Linked DNA regions of Homo sapiens: regions 2 and 3 are each linked to region 1. Evidence: promoter capture Hi-C in 16 types of primary human blood cells and fetal thymus (Javierre and others, 2016). All regions are on one chromosome and are shown on one strand. The core of a region is centred on a gene start or on the middle of the fragment in contact, and the rest is flanking DNA. Distances in the headings are between cores, read along the strand shown. Region 1 holds the start of TAS2R40 (taste 2 receptor member 40). Region 2 overlaps KEL (Kell metallo-endopeptidase (Kell blood group)). Region 3 holds the start of LOC105375547 (a long non-coding RNA gene).

Region 1 (2,700 bases), core at 18-2,517:
AAGTGGAGAGATCTCAGGGCAGGATATGAATGAACATAGTTCAAGGAGCTTTCAAAGTCCATCTTCAGGTTTCTTAGTTACTTCTGTTTAGAATCTCAAGTTAAAAATTCAGCTTCATATTTATAAAAGGATCACGTTATCTGAGAAGTGTCAGAGCAGGTTTGGGAGAGAAGAGACGGGTGAGGAGAGAGTTCTACCTGAGGCAAAGGCAGAAGTGGTTGGACCAGGTCCCGCAGAACTCCGTGAGTTCCAGTCACAGAGTCTGCCCTTTTAGGTAAAGAGGAACTTGGTGCTGAAACCGCTTCCAGGCTCTTCTCAGCCCAGGGTTGCCCAAGATCAGTTGTACTGAGTGGCCGGCAGGGTAGGCAGCCATGATGATCTTGCACAAAATATTCCAGGAACTGTAAGTGTCAAAGATGTTGGACGTGGAAAGAAATAGAGCAATTGCATTGAAAATGTAGAGGATGAGAAAGTAGCTGGTGGCTTTGATGGCCCCTATGTGAGCCTTCATGCTGGGGTCCCTGGACCCTGTGGCATTGCTTCCCATGTGTAGGGTGTGTCTCTTGAGAGAGAGGATCAGCAGGGTGGCTGCCAGGATGAACATGATCAGAGGAACGAAGATCCCCATGTTATAGAAAAATACCAGGTTGACCATATTGGTCTCAGAGAAGTACTTCTTCTCCGTGGAGTTGGAGGAGGGGATAGGAATGGAGCTATTCACATACACATTGAAGACATCTCTCGAGAGAGGAAAGCTGAAGCTTAAGGAAACCAACACTGACAGCCTGAGAAGCCAAGGCATCAGCACTATGATTTTCCTCTTCATCAGGAAGAACAAAGGATGATTGAAGTTTGCAATTCTAAGACAATAGAAGACTTTGAGCCAGGCAGCAAACCAGAGATTGGAATGGTTCAGAAAGACAGTGATGACTTTGAAGAGGATATACACTGAGTTTTGGTTATAAACAATTCGGAATAGCAGACTGAAAATGTTCTCCAGCATCATCCAAATCTGTAGCAAGAGCCTGGAAAAGCTCAGCATCAACATAATGCGGTCACCAGTGGGGAGTGTTTTGCCCCTGGCCCACTCAGCCCCATAGATGGCCGTGATGAAGCCACTCCCAAGGATGCCAGTGATGCACTCTATTCCGGAGACCACCAAAGTGAAGGTGACCTTGAACTTGGATATGTCTTTATCTGTGGCATCTGTGTTCACCGTTGCCATTCTCTTTGATCCTGACTTTCAGGTTTCTGCGCCAAGAATGGGTAACTGCTCTGCAATCTTCTGACCCTTGCTCAATGTTATAATTTCTGCCGCCCTCATTAATGGTTATTTCCAATTTTTCTCCATTTGTTTATCACATGACTACAAGTTAGAGGCTTCACATGCAAATAATGAGAGGATCTGGTTACTGGGTCTGTCTCAATTTTTCATAAAGATACATTTGTCTTGGGCTTTCAGAAGCTCACTGGAAATAATTTGAGACATGTTTCTAGCTCAACACCTTCTTACCTTATTTACTTTAAGTCCACATTTACCTGATAAGCAATGAATACAAGGCCTTTTTACTTGTCTCACAAGATCTCTGTTACCTGCTAAATTATTTGTAAAAGCTCATACAGCTTTTAAAATCTGTTTTCCCCACTTCTTTTCTTGTCTCTCTTATTTTGGGAGAGAGTTTTATTTTGATAGTTACCATGTTTGTGAATAAGAAATTCCCATAAGCTCATATATGAACATCTTTTACTTAGAATTGAGTTTCTTCCAAAAAGGCCTGCTATTATAATGTCCTCGAATAGTATATAGAAAAGCCAAAATTGGATGCTATTCGAGTTGGAGAGAAGGAAGTCTCCATAGTCCCAGTTTTTATTGTTTGTGTATGTGTCATCAATTTCAGCTTACTGAGATCCCACATGACTATTTGAGCTCAGAATCAGGTAGAATGAGCCTGGGGAGAATTCAGTGTTCTGGACATGGTGTTGAAGTTTGGAAATGTGATAAGGTACTATGACTTGAAATTTAATTTCCTACTTTTTAACCCTGGCTGTGAACCAGAATGAACTCTGGCACTTTACAAGAATATGTAGATGCCCAGGACTCGTCCAAATCTAGGAAATCAGAACTGGACTAGGGCTCAGGCATGCTATCTTTTAAAAAAGCCGAAAGGTCTTGTTGCTCATAGTCAGGATTGAGATCCAAAATCTTAGCTGGAAACCAATGAGCCTTGGGTCAGATTTGGCCTGTAGTCATTTTACCTTGCATTGGTTAATGCTGTACAGCATTAATCCACCAGTGTGTAACTTTTCTTTTTGAGGGGTTCTATTGGCAAACATTTAAACTTAGGAGATTACTTATATGCATGCACAAAAAATCTATCTTCTCTTGAAAAATTAGAAGATTTGGCAGTATTGGGTCTTCATAGTGAACTGGCTGAAGCTGAGTAATGGCTGCCCATTTTAAACAAGGTATATACTTTTCAGTTTGTTGACAATACTAATTCCTAGTGTCTTCTTGACACAGAAGCTGAGTGCCAGTTATCATTTTCCAGTGTGCTTACCCTGTTATTTTTATTTGATTATTTTTCTTTTTGAGACTGGGTCTCACTCTATCACCCAGGCTGGAGTGCAGTGGTGTAATCATGGCTCACTGCAGCCTTGACCTCCATAGCTCAGGTGATCCCCACACTTCAGCCACCTGAG
Region 2 (2,700 bases), core at 38-2,537, 260 kb after region 1:
TGGGGGTGGCTTCCAGGGTACAGGTGAATTTAAACATTTCCGGATTGACAGTTGCTTGAGTTTGTCTAAAGATCTGGGATAGATAGAAAGGGAATGTTCAGGGTAAGATAAAGATTGCGGAGACCGAAGTTCTTTTGAAGTCTTATAGTGGCTGCCCTTAGAGACAATAGGTGACAAATGTTTCCTATTCAGATCTTAGTTAATCAAAAGATCTAGCTATGTTAATGAGATATGTTAATAGCTAATAGAGATGCTTTACAGATGCAAATTTTCCTCCACAAAGAACAGCTTTGCAGGGCCATTTCAAAATGTGGCAAAGAAACATGTTTTGGGGTAAAATATTTTTGTTTTCTTCTTTGTCTCGTAATGTTATGCCAGAATCAGGTTAGAAAGTAAATCATGTTACATGGGTTAAATAAAACCCATCTGATGAGAACTTATGATATAGGGCATGACTCCCCAGACCCCTTTGATAGGAATTTGGGGCAAGATAAAAAAAATCAGAGTTTAGTCCTCACTCCCATGCTTCCTTTCTAGAGGTCCAGAATTCCTGGCACCCAGGCTCTGGGGAGGAGAAAGCCTTCCAGTTCTACAACTCCTGCATGGATACACTTGCCATTGAAGCTGCAGGGACTGGTCCCCTCAGACAAGTTATTGAGGAGGTGAGAAAAGTTGGGATATTAACTTTTCTGGATACATAACATATGGGACCAATGCATGCTTAGGGCTGCCATTTTTTTTTCTAGAGGGTGGGTCTTCTTCCTAGGGCCCCCCAATTTCTAGGAGGGAGATGGAGATGGAAATGGTTATGCCCTATGAAAGTATCAGGACCTTGGGAGAAGGCAGATAAAAAAGGATAGATGTGGCTTCCTAGAGGAATCGAAGGGCGCAGGGCAGAGGTCAGGCAGTAGCAGCTGTGTAAGAGCCGATCCAGACAATGGGGGATGGGCTCCACGGATCCTTATGCTCAGCCCCCTCTCTCTCCTTTAAAGCTTGGAGGCTGGCGCATCTCTGGTAAATGGACTTCCTTAAACTTTAACCGAACGCTGAGACTTCTGATGAGTCAGTATGGCCATTTCCCTTTCTTCAGAGCCTACCTAGGACCTCATCCTGCCTCTCCACACACACCAGTCATCCAGGTGAGGGATGCACTGGCGAAGACACAGTTGGACCTGGCCTGCCTCCAACTCTAGCCAATCATCCCTTAGAGGAAGGTTGCAGGTTGGGAAGAGAGGACACCTGTGTGATATAGGAAACAACCCTACCTTAAGGGAAAATTATTGATGTGAAAGTCAGGGACATTAGCTGGGGGTGGGAAATGGAGCAGCAGAGCCAGTGCTGGGAAGACAGAAGTAGGCCTGGTCTTTCTTACTGTTAATCTGGATTAGTCTCAGAGCCCCTTAACCAGTCCTCCTATCTCTAGGATTGCCCTCATTTTATTTACTCTTTATTTTTACTAGAGGGAACTTTTCTAAACCAAGGGCTAACTAACTATGCTACTGTCTGTATTTAAATGCTTGTCAGTGACCCAGTGGCTTGCCAGGTCATCAGAATCTAGTCCCTAATCTTTAGTAAAGCTTTGCAAGCACCTTGTGATCTGACCCCTACACACTTCTCCAGCCTTATCTCCCGTACATTCCTTCTCTCCCTTACCCCCAAGCCATGCTGACTCACTGCTGCTTCCAGGAATATTCCTCAGTTCTTTGCCTATGCTGCTCCCTGTGCCTGCAACCATCCCCCACACTGAACCTGGAAAACTTACATGTTTTTCAAATGTTGGCTTTATTATCTCTTCCAGGAAGTCTTCACCGACACCCTAGTTATGAGTTAGGTGAAGCCCTGCTCTCCCTACTTTCGTTTCCTCATGCTCTCAGCATTTATCACTCTGTGTTGAAGATTGTGAGCCTCTTTAGAACAGGACCATGCTTTATTCACCTTTGTTTCTCAGGACCTATCACAGGGCCAGGCAGCTAGAAGTTTTGCCAGGTATTTGTAGTGAGTGAGTAACTAAATAAAAACACTGGAGCTATCACTCTTGTGGTTAAACAATGTAATGCTATCTGCATATTTGGGCCCTACTGTCAAAAGAGCCACAAAATTACCAAAGGATAAGTACAAAAGAAGAATTGATTATCATTATGAGGTGTTCTAAAATTTAGTTTTAAACAGTCTGCTCAGGAGTTTAACTGATGTGGCCTTTAGGGGCCGGTTAAGATCTGGTTAAGGAGAGGCTCAGAGAGGAGAGAATGAGAGAAGGTGAGCTAAGCCAGCCTTGAAACATGGTTAATTCACACAAGTGGAGGTGAAGCTATGGGGCGTTGGAAATGCTGAGCCAGGGGGAGGACCTGGAATGGTGTGATTCCTTCGTGGAGTCAGTGAGGAGGCTGATCTATTTAATTGAGGATTTGGGAGGCAAGGTGGGGTGCAGTGGGAGGTAAAAGTGAGACTGAAGACATAAGGTTGAGCCTGATTATTTCTAAGAAGCCAGGCGAAGGTGAAACATTTGACATAATAGAAAAAAAAAAAAGAGCTACTGAGGCCATCCAACTCTTATGACAATTGTGCATAGAGCAAGTATTTTGATGGTTGTGCGTAGAGTCAGCAGTTTTGAAGGTCAGTCTGGGGGTGTTGAGGAAACTAAATGAGCATTTTTGAGGCCCTGAGATAGAGGTAGAAATGGAAAGGAAGAGCCAGGCACAA
Region 3 (2,700 bases), core at 101-2,600, 270 kb before region 1:
CAGGGGTCCCACCTCTCAGATGTCATTTTCTTCTTCTTCCCCCTCATGGTGCCCTTGGTTTTCTTTTTACTGCTGCTCTCCTCCTTAACCTTTGGCTACAACTCTCAGTCAGAAGTTCTAGCAGTTTTCTCCATCCACAGACCTTGAGGTGGGGAAAGCTTCAGGCCCTGTGAGGTCCTGAGCTTACCTGGGCAGTGGAAGCAGCAAAGATAAACCCAAGATTCTTCAGGTCTTGCCCAAAGGGGAAGAGCATGAAGTTAAACAACAGTTCCCTAGTCCATTGTCATTACAATGACAAATCTTCCAGGTAAGTAAACCTTTATCTTGCAATATTGGCCAATTGTTATAAAAAAAATTTAGTGGGTTACACACTGATGTCTCTCTTTTTTCTCCCCATTTTACCAAAGACTCATGTTCTATTACTATAGAAATAAATAGTTAAATATTGGGAATAAAACCTCATCCTGACCCATTGTTTCCTCTGCTCCTTCTAGTAATTCCAGTGAAGAAATTAAAACTTTGTGGAAGATGGCCAAGAACCGGGAGATCAGTATTAGGAAAGCTGATAAAGAAAAAACTTCTAGTAATATGAAAATATGCAAAGGAAACACAACAGGAATGTGATGTGGGAGACCATCAAAGAACCTGCAGAACTATTTTAATGACTGTGAACTTGAGACTTCTCAATGGCTCCCAGGCCATGGATGTGATGATTCTAATGTGCGATGTGTCCTCACCACTCTAAAACTAGATGTCACTGTCACTAAAACTAGGTGTGTGGGAGGAGGGGTGAAGGTGCTTTCATTTTCTTCCTTTAGGAAGGAGACCAGGTTCTAAAATTTTAGTTTCTCTTTCCTATCTCAATTACTTTCAGTCCCTTCTCACCAGGTCAGAAAAGTAAATGTTTCTGAATCCCAACTTCTACTAAAAGTCCTCAGTGATGCCACAGCATTGAAGGGCAGTAAAAGATATAAAAGAGTTACAGAAGGGCTCATTATGCTAGGAACTAGAAGGACAATTAAAAGTTGAAATAAAATGTTTTTAGAATATGTATTCCACAGGGAACTTAGTAGAGGAGGGAGCTGTGGTTGCAGAGAAGTAGCTGTGGGGAAGAATGAGTAAGAAACACACCAAGAGCAAGTAATTTCCCTCTGGGGATGCCTAAATTCTGAAAAGTTATCAGCTAATACTGACAAAGTAAAGCCTGCATCACGAAGAAGAGGATGAACAACTGTATCAAGGACTTTCTAAGAGATGTACATCTCCACATTCAAAATGTCCTGTGCATGAAGTGAGCACTCAGCCTTGGTGAGTCACCCACAAGGAAGGCTAAGAGGAGGTGGTAGGAGGATAAAGCCCAAATTCCTGGGAGCACCCGGGACTGTTTTGTGATCCTCCACTGTTTTTCTCACTGGTTGTAGTTGGAGGCTCTTTGAATTCCTCCCGTGACCTAGATGATATAAATCAGTGTTTTCAAGCCACTTGATAGAGTCCTAGTTCTTGTCAGTCACCAAATCAACAGCATAAACTGAAGTGCTCAGTATATGTAGATATACATTTTAAAAACTAAAGAATGGAAGTCAAAAGGGAGATGACTCTTTTCTTGGCCTTGAGGCATTTCTATTCTGTTGGAGATAAGAAGGAATGGAGAAGGGCTTGGATTGGTATAAGAACCAAAGATAGACATAGACCTTCATCTTTTCTTGATAAAGAAGATGGTGAGAAGTGTCTGTTCATATCCTTCGCCCACTTTTTGATGGGGTTGTTTGTTTTTTTCTTGTAAATTTGTTTGAGTTCATTATAGATTCTGGATATTAGCCCTTTGTCAGATGAGTAGATTGCAAAAACTTTCTCCCATTCTGTACGTTGCCTGTTCACTCTGATGGTAGTTTCTTTTGCAGTGCTTAGGAAGGAGGCTTACGTATCAGAAGGCTACCAGCCTTTCAGCCTTGGCCCAAGTAGTTTTGCCATTTCTACTGGTGTAGTCCTCTTCCCCGTTTCCTTAGTCTCTGGTTTTGAGTCAATTAGTCCCGTTCATTGACACCTCCCCAATCAGCTATGTGTGAGATCTGAATCCTTTGAACCCAAAACCCACTAATTCATATCTCATTGCCTACAGTCCCACTAGCTATGCATGCTTAGAGCAATCAAACACCAAAGGATCTATTTTTCCCTTCTATACTACTTTAAACCACAGATTATGTATATTCACTTATCACAAATCTTTAGAGCTGGAAGAAATCTTAATGTACCTAATCTAACTTGCTCATTCTGTAGATGAAGAAACTGTGGCTTTAAAATGTAGCAATGTACCCAATGGATACGTAGATGGTTTCCTGATACAGCTTGAAGCCCAGGCCTCCTTATATGAATCTTAGCATACCTTAAACCTCATCTACTTTTTTAAGAGGCAAGAGCACTATTTCTTGTTTTTGTTTTGTTTTGTTTTTTGTTTCTACTTTATTATTTCTACAGATCTGCTGAGCTGATTACATAGCCAGACTCTATGTCTCCTCTTACCAGATGTCTTCATCAAGCTTCCTCTGAAAACTCCCCTGATAAGGTCATGATGACTCACTCTTTCTATTCTCCCTGCAGGCTGAGTTCCTAAGCAGGAGACCAGACTGATTGATTTGTTATCCCAATACCTTCCACTGGACCAGGCGCTGAACAGTGCTCAGTACATGTTTACCAAGGTGA

What was found. The method cuts DNA at HindIII sites, captures the fragments that hold promoters and counts their contacts. A CHiCAGO score of 5 or more calls a contact.
Region 2: a contact is called between a fragment that was not itself captured here and the fragment with the promoter of TAS2R40 in region 1, in 4 of 17 cell types (M1 macrophages, M0 macrophages, naive B cells and 1 more). The highest score is 6.8, in M1 macrophages.
Region 3: a contact is called between a fragment that was not itself captured here and the fragment with the promoter of TAS2R40 in region 1, in 2 of 17 cell types (M0 macrophages and M1 macrophages). The highest score is 6.1, in M0 macrophages.

The regions. Positions count from the first base shown.
Region 1 is chr7:143,220,604-143,223,303 of GRCh38, reverse strand. It overlaps TAS2R40 (taste 2 receptor member 40), which reads right to left and starts at 1,267. Exons shown (of 1, transcript NM_176882.2): 1 at 225-1,267. The coding sequence starts at 1,225. The coding sequence ends at 254. The HindIII fragment of the contact is 3,585 bases long and covers 764-2,700 here.
Region 2 is chr7:142,956,266-142,958,965 of GRCh38, reverse strand. KEL (Kell metallo-endopeptidase (Kell blood group)) reads left to right here. Exons shown (of 19, transcript NM_000420.3): 5 at 538-662; 6 at 993-1,139. Among named protein-coding and RNA genes, the nearest start is that of KEL, 4.7 kb to the left of the region's middle. RefSeq lists an enhancer at 473-1,188. The HindIII fragment of the contact is 585 bases long and covers 995-1,579 here.
Region 3 is chr7:143,492,022-143,494,721 of GRCh38, reverse strand. The region is part of intron 2 of EPHA1-AS1 (EPHA1 antisense RNA 1); the gene reads right to left. LOC105375547 (a long non-coding RNA gene) reads right to left here and starts at 1,745. Exons shown (of 2, transcript XR_928075.3): 1 at 1-1,745. RefSeq lists a silencer at 2,452-2,700. The HindIII fragment of the contact is 2,379 bases long and covers 161-2,539 here.